Regions from separate parts of the Homo sapiens genome. Here region 1 is linked to region 2. The links are contacts of gene promoters, found by promoter capture Hi-C in blood cells and fetal thymus (Javierre and others, 2016). All regions are on one chromosome and are shown on one strand. The core of a region is centred on a gene start or on the middle of the fragment in contact, and the rest is flanking DNA. Distances in the headings are between cores, read along the strand shown. Region 1 holds the start of OR10W1 (olfactory receptor family 10 subfamily W member 1). Region 2 holds the start of OR5B17 (olfactory receptor family 5 subfamily B member 17).

Region 1 (4,438 bases), core at 565-3,064, 91 kb after region 2:
ATTATAGGTGGAGTGTTCAGATTACAAATATTATAGAGAGCAGTATTCAGATGATAACTATATGACATGACGGATATGCTGATTAGCCTGATTTGATCATTCCACAATGTGTATATGTATCAAAGCATCACATTGTACAATTATTATTGTCAATTAAAAACAAAATATAACTTTTTGAAAAGATGATATGAATGTAATAGACTACAATAAAATTCTCAGAAGTTGTCATTGTGACACAGATTTCAAACTGTCTCTGTATAATAATATAGATGGTAGACTAGCCTTTAGATGTGTGCCTGTTGTAGACTTCCATATGCTATGTTCTTGAATGATAGAATTATTTCCACAGTGCAGCCCAAATCTTAGATACGAAGTTGTTTTATATAAGGACTCCTAAACAAGTGATTTGATTATGAATAATCTTAAATCTTTCATTGCACGGCAAAGTGAAAGTAGAAAATGAAGAAAATGTATAAATAACATTTTCAAGCTGTATTATCCATTCGACATATAATTATTGAGTGTCTAAAATTTGCACAACATTAGGCGTGCTTATATGGGATGATCAAAATGTAAATAAAGCAGAATGGCTGCCCTTGAATTTATAAATAATAATGATGATTATCTTTTATTAGGTTGCCATTACTATGGACAGTTCATTGTGATATCTTACATTACTATTGCATTTAAACTTACAGCAATTCTTTTGTCTAAGTATAATTATTATTCCCATTTTTCAAATACAGAAATTGAGGCTTAGAGAAATTATATATTACCTAACATCATGAAGCCAGGAGCTGGAATTATTCAAACCACATCACTTCCCTTCACTGCTGATTTCACATTGATACACTGCCCCTCCTCCACATGATATAGTATAATGTGCAATATGCTAAGTGGCATTAGAAACCACTCAAAGCATTATTGAAGTTCAGCTCAGGAAAAGAGACCAACTGAAATAGATACCACTTGTTAGCTGTTGGAAAAACAGCAGAGAGCCATTTCTGCCCTAGGTGCTCTTAATATTTGTAGCTGCCTACTCATATTTTTCCCCATGCTTGTGACACTGAGGTGGGTTTGTGTGAATAATTTTTACTGGAAGTGGTGCCTCTGGGTAGAGATTTCTCTTCAAATCTCATATTCAATGACAGGAAATATTAAAATTTGGCACGTTGAAACAAGGCCACACATTACGTCTTTTCCACCTTATTTAATATGAGTTGGTCTGGGAAAAGAAGTGGAATGGATGCCCTTTGCAAATTACGTCTGTTTATTAAAAGGTTTTTGTGGAAAAGATATGGCTTCTCCCAGATTTCACATTAGCTTCTGAGAAATATGAAAAATAGATGGGCTTAGACTTTCATAATCATGCCCAAATTCACAGGAAGGCTTCTTAGATTTCCAACATCTTGGGATCACATATTTTCTCATACCTCCACCCACGCCAGGAGGAAACATATGATAAAACACCTTGTTTCCTTCAAGCCTTATACTTCTGGTCAGATAAGGATAGAAAAACCAATAGTAGACAGGGCTTTGCTTTCTGAGGCGTATCCCTGACACTGTCATACTCAGGCCTCTGTTAGCCCTTTGCTTCATGGGTAATTTTTTTTCTTTCTTCACTTCCCATCACTAGTTTTGAGAGTTACATTGACATATCACTTATTCAATACCCCAGGAGATATTGAGTGTAAATATTAGGTTGGTGCAAAAGTAATTGCAGTTTTTGCCATCAAAATGGCAAAACCGCAACTACTTTTGCACCAACCTAATAAATATGTGAATGAATAAGTGAATGAATAAATGGCTTATCTCCCTTACCTTAATGATTTCTAGCCCCAAGAATTCCTTGACACTTTCTTGTGAATTTGCTGAAAGAATTGAATTTTCATTCCACTCTTTCTGAAAATAGCTCCTGAATCCCACCCACTTCCTCTGCCATTTTTCTTCAATAGTATCTTACATAGTTTGGCCCAACTCTTGGCAGGTAGAAATTGAGGTGTAGATATTAATGTGGAGAAACTTGGTAAAAGTGGAGAAAAGAAAAAGAACTAGTCTTGATCCTTCCAGTTTCTAACTCCAGTGCTGATTACATTAGATTCATGGCTCAGAGTGTAACTTAATTTATCTTCAGTCTGATTCTTCCTTCTGTACTTGTAGCTCTCCACAGAGAAATACTGTTAGCTCAATTACCTGGGAAAATCACTCAGTGTTGATGGAATTTGTGTTCCTGGCCTATCCCTCCTGCCCAGAACTGCATATTCTGTCCTTCCTTGGGGTCAGCCTGGTTTATGGTTTGATCATCACTGGGAACATTCTCATTGTGGTGTCCATTCACACAGAAACCTGTCTATGCACATCCATGTACTATTTCCTGGGCAGCCTTTCTGGGATTGAAATATGCTACACTGCAGTGGTGGTGCCCCATATCCTGGCCAACACCCTACAGTCAGAGAAGACCATCACTCTCCTGGGCTGTGCCACCCAGATGGCTTTCTTCATTGCACTGGGCAGTGCTGATTGCTTCCTCTTGGCTGCCATGGCCTATGACCGCTATGTGGCCATTTGCCACCCGTTGCAGTACCCTCTCCTCATGACATTGACTCTTTGTGTCCACTTGGTTGTGGCATCAGTCATCAGTGGTCTGTTCCTGTCCTTACAACTGGTGGCCTTCATCTTCTCTCTGCCATTCTGCCAGGCTCAGGGCATTGAGCACTTCTTTTGTGATGTGCCACCAGTCATGCATGTTGTTTGTGCTCAGAGTCACATTCATGAGCAGTCAGTGCTGGTGGCAGCCATACTAGCCATTGCTGTGCCTTTCTTCCTCATCACCACCTCCTACACCTTCATAGTGGCTGCTCTGCTCAAGATCCACTCGGCTGCTGGCCGCCACCGGGCCTTCTCCACCTGCTCTTCCCACCTCACTGTGGTGCTGCTGCAGTATGGCTGCTGTGCCTTCATGTACCTGTGCCCCAGCTCCAGCTACAACCCCAAGCAAGATCGGTTCATCTCACTGGTGTACACATTGGGAACCCCACTGCTCAACCCACTTATCTATGCCCTGAGGAACAGTGAGATGAAAGGGGCCGTAGGGAGAGTTCTTACCAGGAACTGCCTTTCCCAGAACAGCTAGGAAAGACGAGGGGACAGCCTATCAGGCAAGTATTTGGTTCCAGCCCACCAAATCTGTATGAAACTGAGATTTCTATCATTTGGTGTTAAAACTCATCTAAAAGATGGTATAAATTATATGGATACTGTTTATGTGTGCCAAAGATTTTTAAATATTTCTACAATTTGACTCTGTAATTTCTCTTCTTGGAAAGAACTACATGAGCATAAAGTGATATAAAGTGGCAAGTATAATACTTTGTCCAGTTACCAGCTGAGAAGAGATAGCTCACTCAATAGATTTTTAACTAAAAAAATATTTAAAAAGGGTTATCTGCAGTGGTTATAGGTAAGGAAACCAATAAAATGTGGCAGAGCACTAACACGCTAGCAATAGCAGGAAGCTTTCTCAGCCCTAGACTTAAAAGGTGTGCCATAGAAGAAGGGTGCAACATTATCAGAGTCCAGTGACAGTTAGATCTAAGCAGATAAACCACTTGGTAGAAACTGTGGCATCAGAAATAAAAAGAAACTATGACAGAACTATGGCCATGCAAGGAAGAGACAGGGAGGCAAATACCCCAGCGTCTCTTTGCTCAAAATCTTCCATTTCTTGCCCTGTCTCCATGGACCAAACTCAACTGGCAGCAAGAAGGGAGGGGAGACTGGGTGAATCAGTCCACAGAAGTCAGTCTCCTAGGGCACAGGGAAAGGCAGACAAAAACCTAGAGAACCAGGGTCAAACAGAGAACAATCAGAACAAATTTGTTGTTTATTATAGCATCATACATAAAAATGAAAATAGGCCAGTTGCGGTGGCTCATGCCTATAATCCCAGGACTTTGGGAGGCTGAGGTGGGCAGATCATGAAGTTAAGAGTTTGAGACCAGCCTGGCCAACATGGTGAAACCCCATCTCTACTAAAAGTACAAAAATTAGCCTGGCATGGTGGCGTGTGCCTGTAATCCCAGCTACTTGAGGGGCTGAGGCAGGAGAACCGCTTGAATCCAGGAGGCGGAGGTTGCCGTGAGCTGAGATTGCGTCATTGCACTCCAGCCTAGGGGACAGAGCGAGACTCCCTCGGTCTCAAAAAAAAAAAGAAAAGAAAAGAAAAGAAAAGAAAAGAAAGAAATTAATCCACTTCTCCTATAATAAAGTATTGGTTAAACAATTACTATGTAAAAAGATATTATTCAGCCTCAAATTTATATTTTCAAATACTAGTTATTAGTAATAGATAATATTAAGTGCTTCCTGTGTGCCAGAAATACATATTCTATCAATCTTCAAAAAGCTCATTAAGACTATTATCTCTGTTTTTTATATA
Region 2 (4,461 bases), core at 1,515-4,014:
CCTTTTTCTTCTTTTCAAAGAGCAAGGTAAGCCTCTATATTCAATATATACTTTTGGTGAAATATGTAATTGATGCAAAAGCAGTGTGGCAGCTACATCTTGTATGAGTTTTTGAGCTCAGATCTACTTGTTTGAACATTTTTTCTAAAACATGGAAGTGGGTCTAGCATTCATTGTTTAAAAAAAAAAAAGAAAACTTAACCAGCAGATACAGTGATATTTATGAAATGCCGTGCTGCTCTCCCTAAGATGGTAGTAAAACCCTAGGCTGGATGATGCTCTGATTGAGTAGGTGGTAAATGTATCTGGTTTATTATGTGTTGGTTTGTCGCTGAAGGAATAGCTCCCCCAAACAGGGTGCAACAACTCTTCAATAGACTTCAGAAAGATTATTATGACACTACCAAGATCCCTATTCCATTTTTACTATCATTTCCTCACAATCTCACTTTTTCATTACTTGCTAATCTAGAAAATCTGACATTGCAGTGATTAAAGGCACAGAAATTGGAATAGGTTAGACATGGGTTTGAATCTTGAATTTATCTTACTAAGTGTAGAATATGAGGAAGGTACAAAACTCCTCTAATCTCCCAATATTTAACAGCAAATGGGGTTATATATCTGTCTGTATAAATACTCTCTCTCTCTCTCTCTCCATGCTCTGATATCTATGTCTGTCAATCTATCATCTCTCTATCATTCATGAAACAAACTGGTTCATAAGTACAAAGGCTAAGCTGCTAGTAACTTTAGAAGATCTGATTTATAAAATCAATGTATTCCAGATATGTGAACTTGAGAATTTAATACTTTCTCTGCTCCTCTAGTGATTCATATATACAATTAGGAAGTTGGCTATGTGATCTGTGAAGATGTCTCAACCATTTCTGATTCTAGAGATAATTTACCTATGATATATAATATTCATACTCATTATGGCAGCCTTAATAATGTTCCCCAAAGGTGGTCATATCTTAACTTCTGAAACCCATAAACATGTGGCCTTATGTGATTTTTTTACAAACTTCACAGTGATTAAATTAACATGTTGAGATGGTAGGATTATCCTAGATTATCCAGGTAGGTACAGTGAGAACCTTTCAGTTGTCATAGAACATAGTAAATTTTTAAAGAAAAACAATAAAAATTGTAGCTTATATTATTATGTGGGTAGTTTTTTGGCAAACAAATAATTTGAATTCTAGAAGTGTCAACTGATGTGTACTGGGGGCAGGAGAAAAATGATAGACAATCAATAGTGGTTATGAGGAAATGAATGTCCTTCTGACAGATTCAAATTCAAATAAAAAGATTGTGCATAAACACATCTGCAGCCTACAGTCAGCCCCCAAGACTACGAACCTCCAACCCTCAATATCTGATATCCTGCTAAGTGTTGAGAGTAATGACAGGAAGAATGTGTCTAAGATAAAAGGGGATTGTTTCAACACAAGGTAAAATGTAGTTTGAAAGGGAGAAATTAAACACAACAGGACTTGAAGATCCCTGGGTTCTCATGCTAGATGGCTGACACAGTCATTCACCTGGCAAAGAATGGATAGAGTGAGAAATGCTGAAGGAAACAAAAGACTGGACATAGTGTGTAAGAAAATACAGATCAGACAGAGTAAAACTGCCAACTTGAAAACCCACCCACACCTTCAGCCCTGTGTGTCACCTCTATGTGTTCTACACCAACATATGCACCACCATTCCATCCTAATAATAATATTATAGCTAGCACTCATCAGGACTGTGCTGAGTGCCCACATTTTGCCAACAGCTGAGCATTATCTCATTTAACTCTCAAAATAATCTCTTGACATAAGTCCTAATATCATCTTCATTTGACTAATGGATAAAATGAGATTCAAGGAAGTTAGATTAAGACCAGTGTCTCCCAAGTAGTAAATGTTAGGGCTTATGAGTTAATACAAATCTACCTCTTCTTAGAGTCCTAGATTTTATACCCAATGCTATATCTTCTCTGCAGAATTGGCTTTGTTGGTTGCACATGACATTAATGCTGCATTTATTCCACTTCATCTAGTATGCATTTATTTGTGCATTGCTCTACTATGCAACTTCATATGTTATGCTTGGTATAATAGATAGAATGAGTACATATAAATAGATTAACATTTAAAATAATTCAAATTCATTAAAAGAATTTTAATTCTTTTAATTTAGGTTGGGAACCACCCTGATTGTGTCTAAAGCTTGGTTCTATCTACTGGTGCTTGTGTAATCTTGAATAAATTATTCAAACTCTTTTTTTCTACCAAGATACTTCATGTATAAATTGGCAATAATAACTAATTAAATAATAGGATTAATGAGAGAATTCTATGAGGATGTACATATAAAGCATCTGGCATGAGACAACTATAAGTGTGTTTAAGATGTTAGATTCAAAAAACATATTATTTGGGAGATAGATTCACTTCAGGCATGTGACATTGGACAACTCATTATTCCCTTCCTATGACTCCATTTACTCAGACACAAAATTAAGAAGCTGGAAAGATGATCCACGAAGACCCTTTTTCTTCAAAAGTCTATTACTGTATAGATAAGTTATCCACTAAATTGTGTTTTCATATCCATAATTTTGATCTAGGAAATATAGAAAACAAATCATTGCTATAATAAAATAACACATACATTTCAGTTTTGTGCAACTCTGTTTTGTTCATCACAGGGTTTTTCTTTTTTATCTCTCCTTGCTACAGAGTATCTTGTGATTCTAAAATAACATCCATGGAGAATAATACAGAGGTGAGTGAATTCATCCTGCTTGGTCTAACCAATGCCCCAGAACTACAGGTTCCCCTCTTTATCATGTTTACCCTCATCTACCTCATCACTCTGACTGGGAACCTGGGGATGATCATATTAATCCTGCTGGACTCTCATCTCCACACTCCCATGTACTTTTTTCTCAGTAACCTGTCTCTTGCAGGCATTGGTTACTCCTCAGCTGTCACTCCAAAGGTTTTAACTGGGTTGCTTATAGAAGACAAAGCCATCTCCTACAGTGCCTGTGCTGCTCAGATGTTCTTTTGTGCAGTCTTTGCCACTGTGGAAAATTACCTCTTGTCCTCAATGGCCTATGACCGCTACGCAGCAGTGTGTAACCCCCTACATTATACCACCACCATGACAACACGTGTGTGTGCTTGTCTGGCTATAGGCTGTTATGTCATTGGTTTTCTGAATGCTTCTATCCAAATTGGAGATACATTTCGCCTCTCTTTCTGCATGTCCAATGTGATTCATCACTTTTTCTGTGACAAACCAGCAGTCATTACTCTGACCTGCTCTGAGAAACACATTAGTGAGTTGATTCTTGTTCTTATATCAAGTTTTAATGTCTTTTTTGCACTTCTTGTTACCTTGATTTCCTATCTGTTCATATTGATCACCATTCTTAAGAGGCACACAGGTAAGGGATACCAGAAGCCTTTATCTACCTGTGGTTCTCACCTCATTGCCATTTTCTTATTTTATATAACTGTCATCATCATGTACATACGACCAAGTTCCAGTCATTCCATGGACACAGACAAAATTGCATCTGTGTTCTACACTATGATCATCCCCATGCTCAGTCCTATAGTCTATACCCTGAGGAACAAAGACGTGAAGAATGCATTCATGAAGGTTGTTGAGAAGGCAAAATATTCTCTAGATTCAGTCTTTTAATGATGCAAAATCATCACAATGTTATTTTATCTCACTTAGATCTACTTTATACAATAACTCAAATGTTAAAATGCTATATGGTATATAGAATGTAAAATTTCATCTAATATTATTTTTGTCTTTAGTTGAGAAACAGTTCTAAGTATCCACGAGTTAGAAAAATACGATGACAATTTCTCATGGAGTTTAATGAAATATGTGTTGTCTCTTGTCATATTTTAGCCAACTATGAGTCATTACTGTTTCTTAATAAACTAATATTTCAGGCATTAATAATTTTAGGTATTTGGTACAGCTTGTTCATATGACAATTTATAAATGGTAAATAACTATATTAGAATAATAATATATTAGAATTAAAAGGCAGAGATAATTCTTTTTTTTTTAAACTTAGCCTATGACTATCAAAGACATCTTGAACTGAGAGAAAGAAATAAAAGAATCTCTGTTTGCTATTTAAAATATAAAATCATGACCTGGCCCAGTGGCTCATGCCTGTAATCCCAGCACTTTGAGAGGCCAAGGCAGGTGGATCACTTGAGGTCAGGAGTTCAAAACCAGGCGAGACAACGTGATGAAACCCTGTCTCAACGAAAAATACAAAAAAATTAGCCAGACATGGTGGTGGATGCCTGTAGTTCCAGCTACTTGGGAGGCTGAGGCAGGAGAATCGCTTGAACCCAGGAGGCGGAGGTTGCAGTGAGCTGAGATCGTGCCGTTGGACTCCAGCCTGGGTGACAGAGCGAGACTCCG

The links. The method cuts DNA at HindIII sites, captures the fragments that hold promoters and counts their contacts. A CHiCAGO score of 5 or more calls a contact.
Region 1: the fragment with the promoter of OR10W1 here is called in contact with the fragment with the promoter of OR5B17 in region 2 in 9 of 17 cell types (neutrophils, fetal thymus, naive CD8 T cells and 6 more); the score reaches 15.1 in neutrophils.

Annotation. Positions count from the first base shown.
Region 1 is chr11:58,265,636-58,270,073 of GRCh38, reverse strand. OR10W1 (olfactory receptor family 10 subfamily W member 1) reads left to right here and starts at 1,814. Exons shown (of 1, transcript NM_207374.3): 1 at 1,814-3,282. The coding sequence starts at 2,216. The coding sequence ends at 3,133. The HindIII fragment of the contact is 7,272 bases long and covers 1-3,517 here.
Region 2 is chr11:58,357,372-58,361,832 of GRCh38, reverse strand. It overlaps OR5B17 (olfactory receptor family 5 subfamily B member 17), which reads left to right and starts at 2,764. Exons shown (of 1, transcript NM_001005489.2): 1 at 2,764-3,709. The coding sequence starts at 2,764. The coding sequence ends at 3,708. The HindIII fragment of the contact is 4,652 bases long and covers 2,225-4,461 here.